4 separate regions of the Homo sapiens genome follow, and all the other regions are linked to region 1. The links are contacts of gene promoters, found by promoter capture Hi-C in blood cells and fetal thymus (Javierre and others, 2016). All regions are on one chromosome and are shown on one strand. The core of a region is centred on a gene start or on the middle of the fragment in contact, and the rest is flanking DNA. Distances in the headings are between cores, read along the strand shown. Region 1 holds the start of LCOR (ligand dependent nuclear receptor corepressor). Region 2 holds the start of FRAT1 (FRAT regulator of Wnt signaling pathway 1). Region 3 overlaps TLL2 (tolloid like 2). Region 4 overlaps TM9SF3 (transmembrane 9 superfamily member 3).

The links. The method cuts DNA at HindIII sites, captures the fragments that hold promoters and counts their contacts. A CHiCAGO score of 5 or more calls a contact.
Region 2: a contact is called between the fragment with the promoter of FRAT1 here and the fragment with the promoter of LCOR in region 1, in 1 of 17 cell types (fetal thymus). The highest score is 8.9, in fetal thymus.
Region 3: a fragment that was not itself captured here is called in contact with the fragment with the promoter of LCOR in region 1 in 1 of 17 cell types (endothelial precursors); the score reaches 6.0 in endothelial precursors.
Region 4: a fragment that was not itself captured here is called in contact with the fragment with the promoter of LCOR in region 1 in 2 of 17 cell types (total CD8 T cells and naive CD4 T cells); the score reaches 5.7 in total CD8 T cells.

The regions. Positions count from the first base shown.
Region 1 is chr10:96,830,535-96,834,004 of GRCh38, reverse strand. LCOR (ligand dependent nuclear receptor corepressor) reads right to left here and starts at 1,707. Exons shown (of 8, transcript NM_001346516.2): 1 at 1,606-1,707; 2 at 526-599. It overlaps LOC102723665 (a long non-coding RNA gene), which reads left to right and starts at 1,547. Exons shown (of 1, transcript NR_135921.1): 1 at 1,547-3,373. RefSeq lists enhancers at 1-467, 468-1,183, 1,184-1,898, silencers at 645-884, 925-984, 1,025-1,744, 1,755-1,804, 1,825-2,124 and a cis regulatory region at 3,160-3,359. The HindIII fragment of the contact is 14,888 bases long and covers 1-3,470 here.
Region 2 is chr10:97,317,665-97,321,134 of GRCh38, reverse strand. It overlaps FRAT1 (FRAT regulator of Wnt signaling pathway 1), which reads right to left and starts at 1,864. Exons shown (of 1, transcript NM_005479.4): 1 at 1-1,864. The coding sequence starts at 1,681. The coding sequence ends at 842. RefSeq lists enhancers at 480-639, 1,729-2,023, 1,761-2,550 and silencers at 980-1,079, 1,580-1,889. The HindIII fragment of the contact is 4,234 bases long and covers 994-3,470 here.
Region 3 is chr10:96,367,180-96,370,649 of GRCh38, reverse strand. TLL2 (tolloid like 2) reads left to right here. Exons shown (of 21, transcript NM_012465.4): 20 at 335-585; 21 at 2,428-3,470. The coding sequence ends at 2,562. Among named protein-coding and RNA genes, the nearest start is that of OPALIN, 9.9 kb to the right of the region's middle. The HindIII fragment of the contact is 492 bases long and covers 1,549-2,040 here.
Region 4 is chr10:96,524,809-96,528,278 of GRCh38, reverse strand. It overlaps TM9SF3 (transmembrane 9 superfamily member 3), which reads left to right. Exons shown (of 15, transcript NM_020123.4): 12 at 102-248; 13 at 783-866; 14 at 990-1,066. Among named protein-coding and RNA genes, the nearest start is that of TLL2, 13 kb to the right of the region's middle. The HindIII fragment of the contact is 225 bases long and covers 1,432-1,656 here.

The DNA of each region.
Region 1 (3,470 bases), core at 458-2,957:
CCTGTCAAGCCAGAAGGCTCAAACACAAAGACACTGAGCTAACCAAGTGCTGTAATTCTTCCAAACTGAGCCTCTCCACACCCCCTCCACCCTTCCCCCCAACAGATATGTCTATTAAATCAGTGTCTGTTCTCCCCCTCGCACAACAAAGAGAACTTCTCACCGCATGAAATTGCCGCTGAATGGACACCAGAAAGCAGGATTTGCATAATTCCTTCCAACGAAACCCTGTCGGGAAGGAGGGAATGAGGGGCCCAAGCGAACGGATAGACTCTCCTAGATTCTGCCGGGAAAGACCTGGTTCCCAAGAATATTCCCCTGGGGGAGAAGGGGCTGGAATTCTGGGCCTCCCCGAGGACTGGGCGTGGGGGACAGCGGACGACGAGAGGGCATCTCCCCACACACCAGCAGCACCGAAGCAAAGACGGGGAAGTAACAATGCTGGAGGACAGGAGAGTCAGACACAAGGATGGACTGGGGCTAGGGGGCGGCGGGCGGAGCGGAGACACCACACGGGCCACTTACTTTTTGGAGGGGGGTTAAATATATGAGTTAAGCCCTTATGGTCCCGCCGGCCGCCGCACAGAGGGAAACGGGACCTTGGGAGAGAAAAACAGACAAAACACACAGTGTGAGAGGCGCAGCTCGGCCGCCCGGCCCCTCCCGGGGCGCCCCCGTCCGCGCTCCCTCCGGCCCGCAGGGAAAAAGCCACCCGAGGGCGGCCCAAGGTCCGGGAGGCGGGGGGCGGACGGGGCATTCGGGCGAGGCTGCGGCTCCGGCCAATCCCCGGGAGGGGACGAGAGCGACCCCCGCCGGGGCTCCTCGGTCGGACCCGGTCCCACCCCCTCCTCCCGCAGCACGACACCGAACACAAATACGCACACACCGACCCGTGCGTCGAGGATTAACTCCCCGGCCACCGCCGCCCGCTGAGGAAGTGCAGCCGCTGCCCCCCGCGGCCATGACACCCCACTTGGCTCGGTCAGGCGCACCCGGGGACTGTGACAGCTCCAGCTCCCTCCGCCCCCATCTCCACCTCACGCTTCGCACACGCCCGAGCGCCGGGCGCCCGCCTGCAGCCCGCCGCGCGTGCACGCAGACCCGGGGGCGCGCCCCGCGCGTGGGGGAGGGGTGGCGCAGGAGGAGGACGGCGGCGGCCACAGCGCGGGTGGGGGCCGAGCACGCCCGCGCCCCTCGCGCCTCCCCCAGTACAGCGGCAGCGCCGCGAGGCGAGTCGCCACAATAAGCCGGCGGCGGCGCCGGGGCGCCGGGCCTGGAGCGGGAGCAGGGGCGGGAGCGGGGAGGGAGGGGAGCGAGCAGGCGGGGATGGAGAGCGGGAGGGGGAGGAACCCGCGCTCCCGCCGAGAGCCAGCCCCGGGGAGGCGCGCGGAGGGGAGGGGCCGGCGCGCGCTCGGCCGAGCAGGGGAGCCCGCCTGGAGGTCGCGCGCGCTCACACTCCGGGGGGTGGGGGAAGGGGGGACGCTCGAGCCAAAGAGGGCGGGCGGGCCGGAGCAGCAATTGCCACTTCCCCAGCTTCCTCCCTGGTCTGGGGCGACCGGCGGCGGGGCGGCCGGAGGGGCGGCGGCGGTCGGCGGAGGGTCTCACCTACACAGTGAATGAGCTTGTGGCGCCACGAATCCAGTTCTTGCCGAAAGCCGCGTCTCTCAACGGAGCATTGCTGCCGCCTACACACCCTCGCCATCTTCTGCCGCCCGCCCGGCCCAGCCTCCGCCGCGGCCCCGCGCACGCCCAGCCGCGTCGCCCGGGGCCGCGCACGCACCCGCGGCCCGGGCGTCGCGCCTCCTGCCGGGGGCGGTGCGGGGGCAGGGCCGGCCTCACCTCACCGTGGCCCCGGCGTGGCCCGGGGGCGGCCTGGGCCCGCTCACCCGCCCCGCGCGCCGCCCGCCGGGCTGCGATCCCGCCGTCCTTCTACGCGGCTGCCGCCGCCTCTGGCCGCCCGGGACGGCGCCTTCCCACAGCCGGAAGTCAGTCCCGCTGGCCCCGCGCCGCCTTCGCACTGTCCCCCAAGGCCACGGCTGCCCCCGCCCTCCCCGGGGCTTTTTGTTTTTTACGCCAGCCCCATTTATCACTTCCAACCTGCCTATCGCCCGGCACCAACTGTTGCAAGTTCCGTAATAACTGCTGCTATGAACTTCTCCGTCGAAACTGCTCCTCCCCAGAGCCTGTTTAAGAAGCAGAAATAAGAATAAATTCCCGGATGCCGGTGGATGCACTGACCTCTAAGATTTTCAAAGGTGAAGTGGATACACGTTATTAAGTCATTGGGAGACATCGCCAACATTGGGAAACCTAGTAAAAAGTGGAAATCGAGCGTTTTAAATAAAAAAAAAAAAAGGTTTCTACTAGCAAGACTGATCGTAGGCGAACTTCTCAAGGAATTTTGGAATATTGTGCCAAAGTGAGAATATTTAATATTTCCAAAAGTAGACTTAACTAGGAATACTTAAAGCAGAGACTATTGGAAATGCTTTAATTTGGGATTTCAGGAAAGGGCTTGAAGAGAAATATTTTATATGAGCAAGCCTCTTGGAATAATTGAATCACCTTAATTTTGTCACTGTTACTTCGAAGAGAACGAGAAGAGAGAAGATGGGAAACGAAAGGAGAAAGGGAAAAGAAATGGGGTGGAAAGAAAAAAGCAGAAGAGATCGCCCTATACCAGTAGGCCTAGTACCCTAGGATTCTGGCCTCTTTCTCCCACCTTTGGTGTTTAAGATTAAGGACAGTGCATTCCTGCTTTTAGAAATTTAAATTTAAGTTTGAAGACTTAATTTTAATTACTGTAGTAGGTAAAGCAAAGTCGTTAAATACTTGACATCAGGATCCCATTGGAGTATTGATTTAGGTCTTTTCAAAGGTGGTGGTCCTGGTTCTCTGCACCAGCCACTGGCGGAATGGCGGAATGGTGTATCTACCAATGAACAGATGGACTGGGTGGGCCTCGGGTACGGGTGGCTTGAGATGCAAATGCAAGGGTAGGAAGGCACCTTCCCCCCCACCACTCCCAGCCCACCCCGCCAATCTTAAAACATTGATCTTTATAAAATTCGCAAACGTCCCACAGGATTTCATTGGCTTAAGAGTATTGTCAAATGAAGACGCCAGGAAGTATTGAGTTTCTGGGTACATAATACTGTCCTGAGTGTTGAAGGAAGAGGACTAATACGAGATTTTAAAAAATGGCTGTGGACAACCATCCTTCAGGTGTGATGGCAGGACATCTTGTATCACCTGAAACTTCCTTTTTTCGCCGCTAGGTGGTGGGTGTGAGTCTTTTGCGGCCTTTAAGTTTCTACGGTGTTTGGAGGAAATACGTTTCAGTTTCAAATAAATGAACAACGTGTAACTCTAAGATGAGTAAATAATCAATGTGTTTTCCAACCACCCCAAGTTAATTTGTTTAAAAAACAATCAAACCAAGGGTAATAATTCCTCGACATAATCTCTTA
Region 2 (3,470 bases), core at 615-3,114, 490 kb before region 1:
TTCTCCGAGCACCGGCAGAACCTGGCTACTCTGTCCCGCAACCCAGTGCGTGCCCAGGAAACAGTGACCTTGAACCGAGGAGAGGCGGGCCGGCTCTGAAAATACACTTTAGACAGGGCGTGGGGTTCACTCCGCGCCTCTCTACCCTTCCACCACCATTCAATACTCCCCGCCCCCACCTCCTTTCCCCACCCGTGTCGTACAGCCTTCCCCCACCACTCTGAGAAGAGAGACAGTTGCAAAGAGAGCGCAGGGGTTAACTCCTATTCAACCCCCAAAGGGTCCCTTCATGGCACCGCATGTTTGGTATTAAGCAGCACCTCCAAAGACACAAGATGGTTTTTTTAAGTCTGGCAGATTGGGCTGCACCCTGAAATTATCTACTCATGTTCTCCTCCCCCAAAGTGGATCAGGAGCCAGCCCTGAAAAGGTAAAGCAAGTAACTGGCATCATCCTCCGTGGTTCCGGCGCACCGCGATCCGGAGAAGCGTGGATTGTGGCCACATGGTCGCGGGGCTGGAGGGCACTGAGAGGCTGCGAGGAAATGCAGGCTCCGCGGCCAGGTCGGGTCACGCCAAATAAGGAGTCCTACTGACTTGTACGTTTGAGGTGCGCTCTGTAAAATCTGCCTTAAATAGGGCCAAAGTCCTTCATTCCAAATATTTTGGCCCTCAACCCCAGTTACCCGCGAAACACTCGCGATTTTTCGGTTCCTCGTCATTAGCTTTTTACTCTCGCTTCCAAAAGCCAGAGTTCTCCACCAGCCTGAGTAGAACTGCAGCCCTCAAGGGAACCCCTTGCCCTCCAGTCTGAGGCTGGCGCTGTGGCCACCCCGGGCGTGTTAGCTGCCAGGCACAAGAACGCCGTCGCCAGTTCTGAGCTGCGCCCTCCCGGAGGCGCCAGGGTCACTGCAGGCCGCGCGAGGGCTGCGAGGCGAAGGGGGTTCATGCACCGGGGCCGACAGAGGTCCCAGGAGCGGGCGTTGGGGAAGCTTTGCACGTAACTGCAGCCGTCGCGAATGAAGCCTTCGCACGGCCTCCTTGATGAGGTTTCCAGAGAGCACTAGCTGCTGCAGAAGCCGGTGCGGGTCGTCGTCGCCTGTGCGGGTTTCTGGTTGGGACCCGCGTCGCTGCTGCAGGCGGCGGGAGGCGGCGGCGCCCCGGAGCCATCCTCGCCGGCACGGACCCGACAGCGGCTGCGGGATGCCCTGCTTGCCAGCTCCCGGAGGCCCATCAAGGTCGGCCTGAGGGGGCAGTGGGGACAGCGCGCTGGGGCCTGTGGCGAGCTCGGCCACGCAGTAGGGCGCAGCGCGGCCCCGCACGCGGCCGCGGTCCCCCAGGGCGCAGCGCAGGACCCCAGGGGGCGCCGGGCCCACAGTCTCCGCCAACGCGGGCGGCAGCAGCAGCGGCACCGCCGGGGACCTGGCCTTGTCCGCCGGCACCGCCGCAGCCAGGGGCCCCGGGGCCCGCAGCGGCGCCCCCGGGGGCCCGCACGGCGAGGCCGGGCTGTGCTGCGCCGCGTCCAGCTGCAGCGTCTCGCCGATCTGGGCCACCAGCCGGTCCACCTCGCCCGAGCTGCCCAGCGCCACTGACTGCTGCAGTAGGAGGAAGCTGTCCTCCTCCTCTTCCTCCCCCTCCGCCTCCTCGCCGGCTTCCTCTTCCTCCTCCCTCCGGCACGGCATGGCCCCCTGTCTGGGCACCCGGAGCTGTGCGGGCGTCGCTGGGGGCTCGGCTGCCGGCGGGCGCGGTGGGCCGCGGCGGAGCGGGCGCGGAGCTGAAGACTAAGTCTGGACCGGGGCCGGGGCGGACGCGGAAGCCGGAGCCCGCCAGGCACTCTAGCCGCGCGCCTGCAGCCGCGGGAGCCGGAATCCTGCCGGCTCGGGTTGATTTGTAAACAATGGGTGACGTCACGTCGGGCCCTACCACCGCGCCGGGGAGGGGGTGCTGTGCCGCTGGGGGACGGCGCTTCTGTGGGATTGGGGGTCTGGGTGAAGCCGGACTGCCTTCTGAGCTCCTTCGCTCAGGGTGCTGTCTGCAAGGGCGCCCTGGGGACCTGATCCTGGCTCCCGCAGTCGGGCGCGATTGGCATTTCCAGAAATGGGCACCAGCGTGAACCCTGTTGGTTTCTTCCACACACAAGCAAGCACGCACACTAACACACACCCACCCACCCACACACCCCTTCTCTCCGTGCGTCAACTCAACCGGTTTTTAGCGTTTGCGCTTTTGAGGTCCGGCATGCGGGCGTCTGGTGAGGATGGAAAGGAAAGGGAGTCAGGCTAGGGATTTGTACGGAGATTAGGGAAATGAAGCTGACGGGAATGGAAAGGAAGAAGGGGACCTTGTCGTTCGATGGAGGTGGCAGAGTTGGAAATGGCAAAGAAAGGCCACAGATTAATGTTTTTTGATCGAGATCCTGGGCGGATGGGGGCCTGGACTGGGGTTGGCATTGCTGGAGAGGAGGTTGCTAGTCTTTTTGTTTATTTGTTTGTTTGTTTTTTTGAGACGGAGTCTCGCTCTATCGCCCAGGCTGGAGTGCAGTGGCTCGATCTCCACTCACTACAACCTCCGCCTCCTGCGTTTAAGCAATTCTCCTGCCTCAGCCTTCCGAGTAGCTGGGATTACAGGCGCCCACCACCACGCCCGGCTAATTTTTGTATTTTTAGTAGAGACGGGGTTTCACCATGTTGGCCAGGCTGGTCTCGAACTCCTGACCTCAGGTGATCCACCCGCCTCAGCCTCCCAAAGTGCTGGGATTACAGGCGTGAGCCACTGCGCCCGGCCTAGGTTGCTACTCTTTTTGTTTTGTTTTGTTTTTTTGAGACAGAGTTTCGCTCTTGTTGCCCAGGCTGGAGTACAATGGCGCAATCTCCGCTCACCACAACTTCCGCCTCCTGGGTTCAAGCAGTTCTCCTGCCTCAGCCTCCCGAGTTGCTGGGATTACAGGCATGCGCCGCCATGCCCAGCCTAATTTTGTGTTTTTAGCAGAGATGGGGTTTCTCCATATTGGTCAGGCTGGTCTGGTACTCCCGACCTCAGGTGATCCACCTGCCTCGGCCTCCCAAAATCCTGGGATTACAAGCGTGAGCCACCACGCCTGGCTATAGGTTGTTAGTCTTAAGAGGGGCTATGTCCAGAAAGTTGTTTAAAAAAAAGCCTCAGACCAGTAGGGGGGATGGGCTCTGAGGAGGTACGTAGTAGCAGAGAAAAATACCTGTTTGGATGAAAATGGAGATACGCTTCCTTCCTTCCTTTCTTCCTTTTCTTTCTCTTTCTTTTCTTTCTTTGACAGAATTTCACTCTGTCACCCAGGCTGGAGTGCAGTGGTGTGATCTGGCTGATTGCAGCCTTGACTTCCCAGGATCAGGTGATCCTCCCACCTCAGCCTCCCGAGTAGCTGGGACAATAGGCACGCGCCACTACACCTGGCTAATTTTTGTATTTTTAGTGGATACAGGGTTTCGCCATGTT
Region 3 (3,470 bases), core at 545-3,044, 460 kb after region 1:
ATCCCAGCGACCAGTGAGGCGAACCGTCCATTGGCTCCATGTCTCCATAACCGGAAAAAACAAAAAGCAGCCAACTCTTTTCAATGGCATGCTCACGTATTCTCAAGCTGGGAACAGGGGACCTTGGCTTGTGAGGGCCACTTTGCACCCCCGAGGGAGCCCTGACCTGGGAGCCAGGGGCCTCTGTGTACTCCTCCATCAAATGGGGTGACGAGACTACCTGGCCTCTCCTGCCAGGCACGCACCAGGCTCTGTAGAGAAAGCCGAGCAGACGCAGGCGGGAGGCACGAGGGTGTCTTGTGCTGAGGGGACATCTCACTTCTCTCTGCTCCAGAGTGCGGGGGCAGGCTGAAGGCTGAAGTGCAGACCAAAGAGCTCTATTCCCACGCCCAGTTTGGGGACAACAACTACCCGAGCGAGGCCCGCTGTGACTGGGTGATCGTGGCAGAGGACGGCTACGGCGTGGAGCTGACATTCCGGACCTTTGAGGTTGAGGAGGAGGCCGACTGCGGCTACGACTACATGGAAGCCTACGACGGCTACGACAGCTCAGCGCCCAGGCTCGGCCGCTTCTGTGGCTCTGGGGTAAGTCCCGGAGACGCTGGGGCCGGGGCAGAGTGTGATGATTCACAGCAGGAGTTGTGGAGTCAGACACGCCCGGCTTTCAGTCCCGGCCACCTACTCCACTTAGGAGCAACGGCGAGGAGGCACGTTCTGCAGAAGCGGAGTGGGAAGCAGGAGAACCGTCAGGAGAGGAGGTTGGGAGGCAGCCAGGGACCAGTCCTTGAAGGCCCCTTACTGAGGCCAGCCATGGAAGAGCACTTTTCCTTTTGGGACTTTCACCTATTTTTGCAAAGGCTTTCCCTCTCCCCTCCTTTTTTTTTTTTTTCTTTTTTTTCCCCCGAGACGGAGTCTTGCTCTGTCGCCCAGGCTGGATCTCGGCTCACTGCAACCTCTGCCTCCTGAGTTCATGCGATTCTCCTGCCTCAGCCTCCCAAGTAGCTGGGATTACAGACATGCGCCACCACACCCACCTAATTTTTGTATTTTCAGTAGAGACGGGGTTTCACCATGTTGGTCAGGCTGGTCTTGAACTCCTGACCTCAAGTGATCCACCTGCCTCGTCCTTCCAAAGTGCTGGGACTACAGGCGTGAGCCACCATGCGCAGCCACTCTCCTCCATTTTTATTTGGCCTTCAGGCTTTAAAAATATTTAATTATGCTTTTATATATTTCTTATATTCACATTTCTCTCCTCAAGCAAAACCAAATGCTCTGAAAATTACAAGTCACTTACTATACACACAATAGTTGTGCTCAAGGTCATTATCAATGTTCTCATTATTGATTTCTTTAGTGGGCCTATTGTGTTTGCTGTTTCTCCAGCACCTGACACTGGGCTTGGCATATAGTTGGTGCTTGGTGGGAGTTTGCGCATTGGCCAGTACAGTGTCCCAGTCACTCCCCTGGCTGCACCGCACTGGACACTGCCCATACTGGGCACCAGCCCCCTCCTTTCTGTTGCCTGGAGGCCCGGTCGCTCAAGCTTCTTTGCTATTGGCTGGACTTATAGCACATCATTTTTGAGTCACCAGTGGTCCTTGTGCTAAACGGAAACTCAAATTGGCATTTATATTTCTTTGAATAATTCCCTTCATCTTCTTTCACCCTCTAAAAAAGGAAGAATGACAAAGTGGCACTTAACCAATGCACTGCCTTTGATAAAATCTTTCAAACTATGAGGTCTGTGGAAAGGAACCCCTTGGAGGGGTTAACTGAGCAGTTAACTGTGGGGGAAGCCCACTTTGGCTCCACTAGAACCTCGCAGGCAACAGCCTTGGAACGTGGCTCCCATTCACAGACCACCTGGCAAAACCTTTCTGACCAATATAGTGGCTCCATCCCATTTTTTTGTCCTTGGATGAGACAGAGGCCTGAACCATGGTCTTTGTTTCAGGTCTCCTGGGAGACACATCATAATGGTGACCCTGGAGCTCGGTGATTCATGGTGCATCCTTTACTGTCAGAAGGACCTAAGCTTGGGTCCCGCCTACCTGCGAGAACTTGAGTCTCAGTTTCCTGAAGTGAAAAATGGGGATAGTACCTGCCTTATAAGGTTGCTGTAAAGTTTACATAAGATCTGGAATTGCCTAGTGCAGCACCTGACCCACCTGCATACTTAATAAATAATAGATTCTATATGAGCTATGCACCTAGGATCATCTTTGGAAGAGCAGGGCCTGCAAAGCTCCCTGGAGCAGAATTTGCAATGTTTTCTTTTGAAAAGGAGCTTGTTTGGATGCCCTTCAGAGTCTCTGGTACCAGAGACACATCCTGTGTCCTTGCATAAGATCCTGTCCCATCCTCCTCATTTTCAACTCCAATCACAGCTAAAGTCCTTCTCGTTTCCCTTTCTCCTTTCCTCAGCCATTAGAAGAAATCTACTCTGCAGGTGATTCCCTGATGATTCGATTCCGCACAGATGACACCATCAACAAGAAAGGCTTTCATGCCCGATACACCAGCACCAAGTTCCAGGATGCCCTGCACATGAAGAAATAGTGCTGATGTTCTTGAAAGACAGAAACTGAGAATTTTTTTTGTTTTGTTTTGTTTTTAACAACAATAGCACCTTGAAAATCTGCCCTAAAACAGTGTACAGTATTTTTCTCAAACAAAAACTCAGAATCCAGCCTTAGAGGTATATATTTGAATGAAAGTCTTGTAAGTTTGGCCAACAAGGTGGAGAGAAAAATGTTCTTTTGCTTCTGTCTGCAATGTTATCATTCATGAACTGTTAAAGTGTTAAAGATTAGGATTGAAGTCACTGACCATTCCGGCTATGCTTCTTCATACCATTCTCCTTGTCCCTTGCTCCTATGTGGCAAAAGGTCAGCCTTGGGGTTGGCCGTTCCTCTAATCTGGACTTGCTTGCAAAGGTGCCAGGCTGTCTTCTGTCCATGTTGGGCATAAGGGATGAAAACTTGGCCGAGACTAATGTGTGGCCCACAGCTTTGGCTGGAATCATTTTCTTTCTCTCTGCCAGGGACATGTCAACCAAGAAACCTGAAAATATGGATGGATGTCAGGACTAAAAAAAGGCATCACAGTGAGCAGTGAGCACAGAGGGAGTTTCGAGTATAAGAATCATTGTCATGAAGTTAGGAGACCACAAAGCCATTTCTCAGAGTCATTCACTCTCCTTGTCCCTTTGGTTTCCCCCCCTCCCTAATTGCAGTGGGGGCTAAGGCATCCATTATGAATACAGCAGAACATTTGCTGGCGAGAGTCCTGTCTGCTGAGAAGACAATATTGTGGCTCGTCCTGATATTTTTTTCATTCATTGACTTTGAGAAGACTCCACCTGTGCTTGGAATTCCATGGGCTTCAAAGAACATTTCTTCTTTTAGCTTTGGAGGCACTTGCCGTGGCACACCTGGACTCCTTGACATCCAATTCAAACTGCATTT
Region 4 (3,470 bases), core at 295-2,794, 310 kb after region 1:
AAGTGAGAAAAAAATGAGAACTAAAATGTGAGACTCACGAAGAGCAGAGTGAGCTTTAAGAATAAAGACTGGAAACCTGTGTCTTTATTGCATTTACTTAGGTATTTCATCTTCACGTCTTTCTGGGCATATAAGATCTATTATGTCTATGGCTTCATGATGCTGGTGCTGGTTATCCTGTGCATTGTGACTGTCTGTGTGACTATTGTGTGCACATATTTTCTACTAAATGCAGAAGATTACCGGTGGTAAGTACCTATTTGTGGATAGAAATTTGGGGAACCATAATATTTTAAAATAAGATTTCCTTTGAAATCTATCAAGTGGAGTAAAGAGCTGTATAGAAATGTTGTTACTTAAAATAGCATAGGGATTTTTTTCCAGTTATAAAAATGATACATATTTTAGAGAAAAAATATCAAATTTTTAATGTATTAATGGAGTACTGTGTTAGAAATATTTTTTACAAAGTGCTTGATATGAAAAGAGTTTTATGAGAAGCATTGCTCCATTCTAAACACAAGGAAACTTAGATATGAAAAAGGAAATGGTGTATTTATGGTCACTGGTAATAGGGAATCTGACAAAATTCAAGATTGAGCTTTCTAATTCTTAGATGTTTTCCTTGTTGATAAATTTGAATACCATGTCTATGCATTTGTTTTTTAAATAAGTTTTAAAGGACTTTAAAGGATGTTTTATTAAATTCTTTGCTTTAAAATCTTTGTTTTAGTGCCATTCATTCAAAAGAGATTTATCTTCTTTCCCCCTCCCCCCACCAGGCAATGGACAAGTTTTCTCTCTGCTGCATCAACTGCAATCTATGTTTACATGTATTCCTTTTACTACTATTTTTTCAAAACAAAGTAAGTGGAGACATTTTTTTACCTTTTATTTAGGAAACTAAATTTGTCCTTTAAATACTAATATTTAAGGCCTTAAGTTGAAAGTAAAACTGGATATCCTATATATATTTTGTTTTATTTCAGGATGTATGGCTTATTTCAAACATCATTTTACTTTGGATATATGGCGGTATTTAGCACAGCCTTGGGGATAATGTGTGGTAAGTTTTGAAATTCTTTGAACATCATGAGTAAATCTGAGTTTCTCTAAATCCGAAAAATACAGTAATTGGAAATTAAGAAATTTTATCTGTTGTTTGATCAGAAACACCAAAATAAACCCGAGTCTGATTTCAGTCCTTTTGACTCTTCCCCACAACATAATTTATTACCTTATTAATTTCTATTTTTATAGAAATTCTAGTAATTCTGTATAGCACAGAATTTCATATCACAGTTTTTCATTCATGTTGAGAATTGGCTTTTTCATTTTATTTATTGTTTTTAGAGACTCAGCTTCTTAACTAGCTGGGACTACAGGCACATGCCACTGTGCCTGGCTTGAGAATTGGCATTTTTTAAAGCTTAGGTTCAATGGAAGATCATGATGTAGGCATGTTAAGGTGTTGCCTGAATGATTCCTGTTTGGAAACTTCTCAGAGTATTCTTGGAGAAACCAGGAGACACCTAGGAGACAGCACAGTTTACTTGTTATGATTGCATACTTGGGTATCTACAGACTGGACTTAAGTTCTAGCTGTACCATATGTATGCTTTCCACCTTGATCTAGTTCCCCAAGCTCTCTAAGCTTCTGTAAAGTGGGGATAAAACCACTATTTATGGATCTATCATAATCATCTATTAAAAGGAAGAGGTAATAGTTTTCACCATGTGATAGAATCTCTAGAATGTGTGAAATAGCTAGAAAATAAAGAACTTTTGGAAACAGTATGATAAATGGGAAAGGCATAAGCATGAGAGCCTGAAAGCACTGGAATAAATGTCCATGCTGTTGCTCAGCTTTTTTTATGGCCATGGAGGTCACATTAACCTTTCTAAGTCTCATTTTTATCTGTAAAATGGGCATATCTTTCAGAGTGGTTGTGAGGAATAGTGTCATGTGTGTAAAGCACCAAGTGTAGTGTTGGGACTGTTATTAGGTAGTAACGATAGCCATTTACATGGTGAGATATGGAAAGAGCTGGCCTTTTGGGGTCAGTCTGTTCTGGGTGTGAACTCCCCACTTAATAGCCATGTTACTCTGGCCAAATTATTTAACCTTTCTTCCTCAACTTTACTCATTTGCAAAATAGAAATAATACCTACCTCATAGGGCTATAAAGAGGATTCAGTGATTAAATGTGGATAAACATCACGTGGCTGGTAGATGCTCAGTGAGGGGTAGCTGCTGCTGCTATTGATGAAGGCTGAAAGTCCTTGGGCTTCCTTCTGCTCTGGAATTGTGTCTGTGTTTCTGCACAGTCTCTGTGGGATTCTACACCTTGTGTTTTCATCTCAGAACAACTTTATGACTCTAAGTTCTGGCAGAGGTAACTTAAGGGAAACTCATACAAGTAACTCACTTTTTTTTGGGCTCAGTGTTTTACTTGATAAATGAGACTGGTCCCTTAATTACTTTGTAGGAATGATGTGTTTTACTTGATAAATGAGACTGATCCCTTGGTTACTTTGTAGGAATGATGTAAGGCTGCGGGACTAATCATGGTGGAAACATTTCCAGAGAGTGGATAATTTTCCTCCTTTTTCTGTTACTTGCCATTGGCTATTTATGTATGTATGTGTGTATTTGATAATTCCACCTTTGGCTATATAAGATATATATAAGATATGGTAATCTTATTAAAAGCTAAGTCTTGGTATGACATTTATGGACACCTTTGGGGTACCAAGATTGCTTTGTTTCTCCATCAAAAGAGCCTGTTCAGTTCATATACACTATGTATGTGATCATGTGTGTGCGCACACACAAATGAGATTGTCCGTAAAGTAGTGAATGAAACATTCCACAAGGAAAGATCATTCTCTATGTTATAGTCACATGTTTTATTTATAGCTGCTGTGATAGCCATTCCCTGTGATAATTAGTAACCAACTTTGAGAGAAAGATGAGAGGGACTGAAGGTTAAAACTACATTGTGTCAGGTGGAAACATCCCTATTCTTGGACAGTCAGAAGGTTCCTTATTATTTGCCATCCTTTCTTCAGAGTATTGTTCACTGGACTCCTCTTTATTTTATCTGAGATTTTTCTTGATTATCACCAGCATTCAGTGAGGTATAGAATCGATTATGCAGAGAGTTAAAAAAATTTTTCTTGACTTGACTTTTTCTATATGTGATCTTAGGAAGACCCAGAGAGGTAACATCTTGACATTTACAAAGAAAATGGAATGAATCTAGCTAAATTTTTTGAGTGCTTTTCCTGCTGAAATTTCATCTTGCTGCCTGAAAACCTTGGCACATTTACAGTTCCCTGCTGTTCTGGCAATGTCCCAGCATTTATTCTTTAATGGGTTTATATGCCTTCAGTACTTCATTTTTCAGGGGCAGGTGGGGAGAAACTGTTTAGACTGGAAGTCATTAGAATGTCATCATAATACAAAA